Regions from separate parts of the Homo sapiens genome. Here all the other regions are linked to region 3. Evidence: promoter capture Hi-C in human tissues and cell types (Jung and others, 2019). All regions are on one chromosome and are shown on one strand. The core of a region is centred on a gene start or on the middle of the fragment in contact, and the rest is flanking DNA. Distances in the headings are between cores, read along the strand shown.

Region 1 (3,544 bases), core at 1-2,500, 480 kb before region 3:
CTGGTCCTGCTTCCTTCTTGGCCCCCTCTACATTTTCAAGGCCACGCCCATCTGCCTGGTCCCGCCTATGATGACTGGCTTGGCCTTTATCTTTTCGGCCCCATCCGGTTTCTTAAGTCTTGCCTCATCGATTTGGCCACGCCCCATCCCACTCAGCCTCCAGTCTCCCGAGACCCTGAGATTTCTCGGGCCCCGCCTCCACCGCCGAGGCCCCGCCCCGGATCGCGAGGCCCCGCCCCCCACTTACTCAGAGATGTTGTAGTAGAAGTGGCCTTCTTTGCCCCGCAGGTCCGGAATGGTGATAGTCTCCAGCTCTTGCTCCAGAAAGCGCAGCCCCTCCTGCTTCACTGAAGCAGCAGAGAAACCCTTACTTAGCTCCCGTGCCCACTGTTGGGGCGACCCCAACCCCGTCCGCTCCCGTCCGTCCCTGTCTGCCCCTGCGCCTTACCCAGCTCCAGCGCCTTGGAGGTGACGCGGATCTTGCAGCCTGGGAACTCTGCATGTGCGCCTGCCAGCAGCGCTAGGAAGAGGGCCCCGAAGAGGGCCATGGCGAGCGGGCCTGGGGGTGGGGTGGGGTCGCAGGAGTTATCTGAGCCGCTTAAACCCATTCCTTGGACGTCCAACCATAAGTGGGAACTAGCCTGGATCGTTACCCTCCAGATAACTCTTCGGGGAACTTGGAACCAATAATCTTGCCTCCATATGGCAGATGTGGAAACTGAGGCTCAGAGAGGCGATGCGACTTGCGTTCTGGCTCCCAGAGGATTTGGGACACGGGGGAGGGGACGTTCCCAGTTCCCTCGTGCTACCGCCGCGTGATGAGTTTGGACCTCCAGGGGACCAGCCCCCACACCCCCAACAACCTCCCCTTTCCTTTAGCGGTGGGCCCATGCAGGCTTGCACGTTGCCACGGCAACGACTGCACGCGCATTCTTGGAGGGTGGCTTGCGGTCTCCTAGGCCTCGCGCCCGGGGAGGAGAGGAGGTGGCCGACCAGACCGTGGGCTCCCGGGTCTCCCGGCTCCCTCAGGTCCTAAATCTCTCCCATTAGAGATTCTGCCTGGAGCCCCCATGTTAGCGTTCTCCTTCATCGGCTCTCCTCCCCACGCCGGCTTCAGTGCACCACGCGGCTCGGCGAGGGACTGGGAACGGGATAGGGACGCGCCCCAACTCACTCAGCGGTGGAGCTGGGGGGCGGCGCGGTCACGTGGGATGGCGGGCAGCTCAGGGGATCCGGGCGACGGGGTCTGGCGGGCAGGGTTGTTCCAGCCGCCTTTATAAAGCCGGCCTCCCCGACCCCTCCTCCTCTCTGCAGCTCTCCCCTCCTCCCTTGGGGGCTGGGAGGGGACGGGGCGGGACGCTGGCAGCCGGGAGAGTGGAAAAGGCTGCACAGAGCCCCGTGACAAGCCCGGCCGCTGTCTGGACAAGTGGGAGACCCAAGCCCAGGGAGAGGGAAGGAAATGCAGGAGCCGGCCCACTCAGCCCCAACAATCCCACTTTGCTGGGACCTTGGTTCAAATTACAATTATCCATGTCTTCCTGCATGATCTTGGGCAAGTCACTTCACTTGGGTCACTGACCCTCAGTTTCTTCCTTCAGCGAAATGTGCACGATGATAGGAACTACCTCTTGGGCCTTTATTACAACCAGGTCCAGGCACAAAGTCAAGGAATATTTTTTCTTTCCCTGCCACCCACAATCATCTCGGGACCTCCTTGCCTGGCTTTGCTATGGGCCCCCCTACCTGTCTCTGTGTCACCACCTGGGGACCTTAAGGTCCCAGAGACCTTTCCCACTTGGGAAAGCAAGACTAGACAAGTGCTGTCAGCCCAGGAACATACCACACCGGCTGAAATCAGAAGGAGGTCTGCCATTTATCGTGGCTGGTGGATTGTTTTTTCTATTTTTTTTATTTTTATTTTTTGAGACGGAGTCTCGCTCTGTCCCCCAGGCTGGAGTGCAGTGGCGCGATCTCGGCTCCCTGCAAGCCCCGCCTCCCGGGTTCACGCCATTCTCCTGCCTCAGCCTCCCCAGCAGCTGGGGCTACAGGCGCACGCTGCCACGCCCGGCTAATTTTTTTTGTATTTTTAGTAGAGACGGGGTTTCACCGTGTTAGCCAGGATGGTCTCGATCTCCTGACCTTGTGATCCGCCCGCCTCGGCCTCCCAAAGTGCTGGGATTAAAGGCATGAGCCACCGCGCCCGGTCCACTGGTGGATTTTTTAATGAACCCTTGGAGCAAGGTGCTCTGAACAGCATCCCCGCCCCCACCCCCACCCCCACCTCCATCTACTGCTTACAGGGTTCCCGGACCCTAGGACAGGGCACAGAGTGGGTGCTTGCCACCTTTTTGTTGCCAAATGGACGAAAGAAAGGGGAAGCAATAATCATGTCTGCTGAGCATGTATTTAGCACCAAACACTCATCTAGGAAGGATGACTAACTCATCCTGATTTGCCTAGGACTTTCCCCATTGTGTCTTTTTTTTCTGATATAATCCACAGATTCACAAAAATAGTTCCATTTCCTTTTTTATTTAATTAATTAATTAATTTTTTTGAGACACAGTCGTGCTCTGTCACCAGGCTGCAGTGCGGTGGTGTGATCTTGGCTCACTGCAACCTCTGCCTCCTGGGTTCAAGTGATTCTCCTGCCTCAGCCTCCCAAGTAGCTGGGACTACAGCCATGTGCCACCACACCTGGCTAATTTTTGTATTTTTAGTGGAGACAGGGTTTTGCCATTTTGGCCAGGCTGGTCTTGAACTCCTGCCCTCAAGTGATCCGCCTGCCTTAGCCTCCCAAAGTGCTGGGATTACAGGTGTGACCCACCATGCCCAGCCTATTTATTTATTTTTATTTATTTATTTAAGATGGAGTTTCTCTCTTGTTGCCCAGGCTGGAGTGCAATGGCGCAATCTCGGCTCACTGCAACCTCCGCCTACCAGGTTCAAGCAATTCTCCTACCTCAGCCTCCCAAGTAGCTGGGATTACAGGCACCCACCACTACGCTCAGCTAATTTTTTGTATTTTTAGTAGAGATATGGTTTCGCTATGTTGGCCAGGCTGGTTTCGAACGCCTGACCTCAGGCAATCCACCTGCCTTGGCCTCCCAAAGTGCTGGGATTACAGGCGTGAGCCACCGCGCCCGGCCGCCTATTTATATTTTTAGAGACAGGGTCTTGCTCTGTTGCCCAGGCTGGAGTGCAGTGGTACAATCACGGCTCACTGAAGCCTCCACCTCTTGGGCTCAAGCGATCTTCCCACCTCAGCCTCCTGAGTAGCTAGGACTACAGGCAGGTGGTACCATGTCATGTCCAGCTAAGTTTTGTATTTTTTGTAGAGACAGGTCTCACCATGTTGCCCAGGCTGATCTTGAACTCCTGGACCCAAGTGATCCTCTTGCCTTGGGCTCCCAAAGTGCTGGGATTACAGGCGTGAGCCACACATCCAGCCATCCCCATTTTGAAACCATTCCTGGGAACCCACTCAGTCCCTGGGAAACCTTACAACTGGTCATCCGAATTCTAGGTAATTTATTTAACCTTA
Region 2 (3,475 bases), core at 462-2,961, 420 kb before region 3:
CAGGTATATTTACCATTCCCACTTTACAGACGAGGAAACAGAGCTAGATGTTGGGTAGCTTGCTCAAGATCACACGGCTAGGAAGTGGCACAGCCAGGAGGAGATGGTTTACAAAATGTTTGCAAGAGGATGTCTGGTGGGAGCTCACAATCAAGCACCCTTGAAAGCAAGTATTTCTGCTTTACTTTAGCCGGGATACTGAGGCTCAAAGAGGTCTCCCAGTAAACTGGAGGCAGGACCCAGTCTTAACCCAGGGCACTTGCGTTTTTTTTTTTTTTTTTGTAGAGATGAGGTCTCGCTATTTGCCCAAGCTGGTCTCCAACTCCTGGGCTCAAGTGATCCTCCCACCTCAGCCTTCCAAAGTGCTGGGATTACAGGCGATGAGCTACCACTCCTGGCCTAGACATCTGCCTCTCAAAGTGTGAGGACTGTGGGTAGTATAGTAGCTAAGACCACAGCCTAGATTTGAATCCTGGCTCTGTCTGCACTCTGTACCTCGGCATCCTTTTCTATAAGATGTGGGAAAAAATGGTATGTGTCTTAGAAGGTATGAAGCTCAAATGAGAAAATCCATTTTAGGGGTTTGGCTTGGTGCCTGGCTCACAGTAAACCAGAAACACCAAGTATTAGCTACAAACAAGCCTTGTTTCCTCTTGGCTGTCAGGCACTGCTGCTCGCGGTCCTTGCCTCCACCCACGCCGTCCAGCCGGGTCCATACCTGAGAACGGCTGCCGCGGTCCGAGCTTTGCCCCACGCCAGAGTCATCGGCCTCTGCCTGCCCCGGGGCGGCCGCGGCGTCGCTGCTGTCGGCGGACACGGCTTCTGAGGTGCCCACACCCAGGCCGCTCTCAGAGGGCTCCTCGGGCCGGCCAGGCCCAGGGGCCGCGTCGCTGCTGCTCTCCACCTCGTTCTCCTCCATCTGATCGGCGGGCTGCCTGACAGCGGGGCGTAGGGTCTGGGAACTTCACTCTGAGAAGAGAGGTGACCGTGGCTGGAACAAGTGGGCCATCTCCCCAGCCCCGGCAACCACGGCCACCCATTTGCACCCCTGCGCCCATTTTGCAGATGCGAAGATTGAGTCTCCGACGGGGCGGAGCTTCCTGGTGTATTGCGAGGGGAGCTCGGGAAAAACTTGACGGAGAAGCTGTGCTTCCCAGGCTAAGGCCCTTCCCGGGAGGGTGGTCAATGGCTGGTAATCTTGACCCTTTCCCTCGCCCCCACGATTCTCGTGGAGCGTTCCGCTCTGTGAGCCCCATCCGGGCCCAGTGGTTCAGCCCTTCGGCCCCCGCGTCCCCCCGGGTTGCAGGGCCGGTGGTACAGCCCGCTGGCCCCCTGGGTCAGTGGTTCGCTCCCCCCCGGTTCCCCTGCGGAGGCGGCTGACAGCGACGGTCTCGGGGCCTGGCGATTTGGGGCTGTCCCCGGCGCTGCCTGTGCTCCAGGCCCGACGCCATCTTGTGGTGGCGCCGGGTTTCCGCTCAGGCAAGTGCGAGAGCGACTAAAGGGCCTGGGACCCCGGGGCCCTGTTCGGACAGCCCCGCCGGCCTGGGACCTCGCCTCCGGGTATCCCCGCAGTGTGACCTCACTCCACGGCAGGGTACGGTGGGGCCGCCTAACTCTACCCGAAGCTCACCCGAGGCTTTCGTAGCCACGTTCCTCTCTGACTCCGGCATCGACGAGGTCGCCATCCTCTTTCCTCCGCTGCGGAGGAACCCATCGGCCTATTGTAGGCCGGAACTACTTCCCCCGCTGGCCCCGGGAAAGACACATTTTCAGTGTTCCGGAAGGTCGCTCCGAGGCCTCAAAACCATAATCGGGTCTCAACAGACTCTGGGACTTTATACGTCGCCCGGTGTTTGGCACTGAGCCCACTATGGTTTGGGGACTACTTTATCTCGGCGGAGTGTTACGTAGGAAGTGGTTGTGACGTCATTCTGGTCCCTTCCCTAGGCCGCAGGGTTGGGCGCGGCGAATGCGCGCCCCGCTCTCTTGGGGCGTGGCTCCCAGTGGGGGGCGTGGCTCCCGGTGGCTTGGCCGCGCCCCTCCTACAACAGCCCGGAAGAGCGTGTGGCCGCGGGCGACTTTGGCTTGGCCAAAGAGGAATTCATGTTGTCAGTCATTTTACCTGACTCATTACTTATTACTTAGCGCGCTGCTGCAACCCAATCGAGCTCTGCCCGTTAGGTTTGATGTGTTTTGTTGGGAAGGGAATGTATAATTATTGTACAGATAGGGAAACTGAGGTCTGGGTATGGGAAGGGCTGGTCCAAAATCACATCCAATAAAGGGACTCAGGAGCTAAGTACGGATGGCAGGAGTCGGGGAAATGGAAAGAAGTTAATGCTTGTCCCTTAGGTTTGTATACATATTTGTTAACATTAATAGAGCTGAGGCCGGGCGCTGTGAGTCACGCCTGTAATTCCAACACTTTGGGACGCCAAGGCAGGAGAATCGCTTGATCCCAGGAGTTCCAAACCAGCCTGGGCAAAAGAGCGAGACCCCATCTCTACAAAAAAAAGAAAAAAAAGAAAAATTAGCCAGGCATGGTGGCGCGTGCCTATAATCCCAGTTGCTCGGGAGGCTGAGGTGGGAGGATCGCTTGAGTCTGGGAGGTTGAGGCTGCAGCGAACCGTGATCACACCACTGCACTTCAGCCTGGGCGACAGAGCGAGACCCTCTTTCAAAAAATAAATAAATACAAGTCAACTACCTATCCTTTAAAAGTGGAGAAAGAAAAAAAATTTTAATTAAAAGTCAGCTGCCCTTAAGGTATGTCCTTCCTCCGGAAATGTCACCTTCTGTTTTAAGACTTTTAGCAGTTTGCAGTGGAAGAGCACAAGAGGGAGTAAGGCGCTCTGGTTTTTGTCCCTAAGTCTCTGTAGTTCCATAGGCTATTTTCCTTAATTGAAAGATACAAATTTTGGGGGAAAAAAATCTCAAAAAAACTCCTAAGCAGGCTGGGCGCGGTGGCTCACGCCTGTAATCTCAGCACTTTGGGAAGCTGAGTCGGGCGGATCACCTGAGGTTGGGAGTTTGAGACCAGCCTGATCAACATGGAGAAACCCCATCTGTACGAAAAATACAAAAGCAGCTGGGCGTGGTGGCGCATGCCGTAATCCCAGCTATTCAGGAGGCTGAGCCAGGACAATAGCTTGAACCCGGGAGGCAGAGGTTGCGGTGAGCCGAGATCACGCCATTGCCTTCCAGCCTGGGGAACAACAGCGGAAACTCTTGTCTCAAACAAACAAACAAAAAGTCCTAAGGAGAAGACCTATTAATAAGGAGAAAAGGTCCGGGCTCGGTGGGTCACACCTGTAATAACCAGCACTTTGGGAGGCTGAGGCCGGTGGATCACTTGAGGTCAGGAGTTCGAGACCAGCCTGGCCAACATGGTGAAACTGTCTCTACTAAAAATACAAAATTTCACTGGGTGTGGTGGCGCGCGCCTGTAGTCCCAGCTACTCGAGAGGCTGAGGCA
Region 3 (3,416 bases), core at 44-2,543:
TCTGGCAAGACTTTCTGGAAATCTCCAGGCTGAGTTAGGTGGTCCCCTTTGTGAGTTCCCACAGCTCCCTAAGCAACTTTCTCTCAAGACCCTTGAGACAGGCCTTCTATTGCATTTGTTTACTCCCCACTAGGTGGTGAGAACCAAGACAGACTTATTTTCCTGTACTATTTCCTGATACAAAAAGACTGACTTTCTTATCTCCAGAGTACTTATTTCTAGAACAGAGTCTGGCCCATGGTAGGTGCTCATATTTGTTTGTGACATGAATAAACTCCTAAGGAAGAAAGAATACCTACCGGGGAGATAGCCAGTTGTAAGATTGTCCCATTCTTAATGTCACTGCGAGTCTGGGTAGTGAAAAATAAACAAAAAAAGTAACTAAGATAAAATGTTAAAGTGGTACAAGCAAGTTGAATCAACAATAATGTTTTGTCTTTTTTACAGTAGATGTAACTGAGGATCTTCAGTCGGGCCCTCTTCTCCTGCTTATTCCTTGGCAAAGAATTTCTAAGATCCTCCTCTAGCACCCTGGGCACTCAGGAAGTAAAAGCCACCTTTTTCTAGCCACTAGGGAAGAACAAGGGCTGGTGTTTCCCAGTCTGTCCGGAGAGTGACTCTTTACCCAACACATGGAAGCTACCTGGATGCTGAGTGAAGATAAATAGTGCCGTCTCCTTGGGTCGTTTAATTCCAAGCAAGGCCCATATTGATTTTGCCTCTCCCTGTACTAACCTGTTCGGTGATGTACAGCTGAGGACCATCTGCATAACGGAGGGTATAATACTCTGGGTTTGGCAACGACCACCTATGCAAGAGAAAAACAGTATATCCCACTTGGCCACTCTCTTGTTCAGAAGCTGCTCATAAGTAATTTTCAAAAGAGTTGCTCAAGGGATTGGGTGGCCTATTTGGAATACAGTGGAAACAAAGCTTTAGGTTGTCATGTTGAAAAAATCATGGCCTCAGCCTTTTGTAAAGATGAGCACCACAATAGGAGGTGTGCAGAACTGAGGAGGGGTCTCAGATCCTACCTCAATAGGGCAATGCTAGACTTTAAGGAAAAAATTAAGAAGTATAAACGTCTTAGGGGTATGGTTGTCAACTGTACTTCCTTCCCAAGACAATGATTCCCAAGACCCCCATGCTGAGGACCTGCCTAACTGGAGATCCTTCCCAGAACTCCCCTCAAGGTGTAGGAGTGCTCTTTCAGTCGGAGCTGCCACTGTTGAAAACGAGGTCCATTTCAACCTACCCATCACAAACTTCCTTGATAATGGATGCCAGGGGCCGTTTCTGAAAGAGAGAGAGAGAAAGCCTTCAACAGCAGCAACATCCTACTCATGCCAAGGTTCTGACAAGAGGCCTGCCAAGCAGGGTCAAGCTGGGGCATGAGAATGAACTTCTTTCCTAACAGCTTTTGTTGAAGAGGAAGCCTCTCCCAAGCCATGGTGACCGACCTTCCCTAGGGTGGGCCAGGCCCAAAGCTTAGCCTTCCTGTTGCTCGTTCTTACTCTTGATGCCGGTGGTCCCCATCCCTCAAGATGTCCTCTGCCATGCACTCCCCAGGTGCCTTTCCTTGAACCACTGCTTCTCACTTCAGGAGCATACCTGGTCGATTTCAAGGAGCTGGGCGTTAGCACCTGGCCACTCAATGGCCACTTTGACAATGTCTGACGGTGGTGGCATCGTTCCCAATGGGCTCTAATTCTGCGAGACAAAAACACAGACACGGCTGCCTGGGGAGAAAGAATCAGAAAGGTGGAAAAAGAGTATTTCTTCATTTTTCACTCTTGTTACATGTTTTGAAGAGTTTGAAGACAGACACTGCATAAAGTAACACATGAAACTACCTGGTTTGAATTTTTCTAGATCATACCACAACTTCTGCTTAGGATTTTGTCTCTTGAGATTAAATCAGCAAGAAGAAATGGGACAAACTATCTATCATCCATAGATCAGCCAGTAGCAAGATATGCCAATGTGGCACTTCAGTTTAAGAGTCAAGAAGACTCAGTGGTAGAGGAATGTATTTACTGCAAATTCCTGTCTTGAGACCTTGGGAGGAGAGAAGCATATGCTCCGAGACAGATAAGAATAGACAGCCTTTTCTTGGTTGAGTGGTTAGCTGGAGGAGCCAGGCTACTTCTTTCTGCAGTCATCCTAGGAAGATCCCAGCATCAGCAGGGCCCAGCTACATGCTCTCTTGCTTCCTCCCCACTCATCGATGCCACCCCTTTCCCCTCAAAGGACACAATGCAAAGCCTCCTCTGTGTGGGACGACATCAGAAAATGGGGAAGATAACTGGGACAGGAAATGCTATTTTCGTCCCTACTGCCAAGGGCAAGGGCGGCTGACAACTCAAGTGGAGAGAGGTAAGGATATCCTCACACAAGGGCCCCTCTTATAAGGACAAGGCTTTGCAAGTACCTCTGACCCCCTCCCCCACTTCTCTCCAAAATAAAGGAAAATAAATCATCCTGAGCAAGTCTGGAAGATGGGCCCATGTGACTGGTATCCTAGGCAACTCTGATAGCTTACTGGTATTCCAAGCAGTAACTAAAGCATTCTCTCTCCAAGGTCTGACGAAGGGAAGTCACTTGGCTGATGGATTATTTCAATGTATATTTACACTCCTTGCCTACAAGTTCAGGAGAGGCCCCTCTCTTAATGAAAAAGACCTTTCTGCATCCTCCAGGTTTAGCCATTCACCCACAATTCATGCCTCGCTAATGGGGACCACCTGCCTCTCCTGGCGTACAAAGCATAGCTGTCGCGAGGCTATTATGCATGTATGCTATCAATTTTTCAGCCCAAACACAGATGTCAGTTCTCACAGCCTGGTAAGTATAAACCTCTTAGATGAAAAGGAGTAAAAGTCCTGTCCCCCACAAGCCCATCGGCCTCAGAAAGAGGGATGCTTTCATGACCATTTCCTAGTCAGAATGGGATGCTTCAGAAGTCTACTGTCATAAAAAGCCAGCATTTCCAGAACATGACAATGTAAAGGAACTAGTTTTCCAAGTGCTTTCACTTATTTTATTGTGTCCTCCCAGCAGCCCCACGAATTAGGCAGAACAGGATTATCACCTCCATTTGAAGATGGCACAACTAAAGCTCAGTGTTTTGTTAAGTGCCCAAGGTCACCCAGCTAGTAAGTCATAACGGTTGACAGAACTTGGACTGGCTTCGGCCAATGCTTTCCCCTTTTCCTTTGAGCCAGCCTCAACTTCTGTCCACTGCAATTAAACGCAGCCTAAAGGGATTGAAGTGGGTTGGCCTTATGGCCCCCAAGGCTTCCATAACTTCTGCAGCTCATGGCAGAATTTTTCACATGTAATTTTTATGTGCCTAGACACACGACAAACCTCAGAAAAGAAACTGGCCCTATCTGCATAATTTCTGGGGAAAATGC

The links. The method cuts DNA at HindIII sites, captures the fragments that hold promoters and counts their contacts. A contact is called where the count stands out against the background at its distance.
Region 1: the fragment with the promoter of PLTP here is called in contact with a fragment that was not itself captured in region 3 in 2 of the 25 tissues and cell types used here (dorsolateral prefrontal cortex and spleen).
Region 2: the fragment with the promoter of ZNF335 here is called in contact with a fragment that was not itself captured in region 3 in 1 of the 25 tissues and cell types used here (spleen).

Annotation. Positions count from the first base shown.
Region 1 is chr20:45,910,905-45,914,448 of GRCh38, forward strand. It overlaps PLTP (phospholipid transfer protein), which reads right to left and starts at 1,251. Exons shown (of 16, transcript NM_006227.4): 1 at 1,175-1,251; 2 at 449-559; 3 at 248-347. The coding sequence starts at 548. The HindIII fragment of the contact is 16,312 bases long and covers 1-3,544 here.
Region 2 is chr20:45,970,492-45,973,966 of GRCh38, forward strand. ZNF335 (zinc finger protein 335) reads right to left here and starts at 1,712. Exons shown (of 28, transcript NM_022095.4): 1 at 1,631-1,712; 2 at 719-969. The coding sequence starts at 919. RefSeq lists a silencer at 1,224-1,343 and an enhancer at 2,114-2,333. The HindIII fragment of the contact is 24,986 bases long and covers 1-3,475 here.
Region 3 is chr20:46,392,794-46,396,209 of GRCh38, forward strand. ELMO2 (engulfment and cell motility 2) reads right to left here. Exons shown (of 22, transcript NM_133171.5): 3 at 1,612-1,739; 4 at 1,256-1,296; 5 at 736-808; 6 at 300-350. The coding sequence starts at 1,689. It overlaps LOC124904917 (a long non-coding RNA gene), which reads left to right. Exons shown (of 3, transcript XR_007067614.1): 3 at 448-3,416. Among named protein-coding and RNA genes, the nearest start is that of ELMO2, 12 kb to the right of the region's middle. RefSeq lists an enhancer at 1,441-1,940. The HindIII fragment of the contact is 3,871 bases long and covers 1-3,229 here.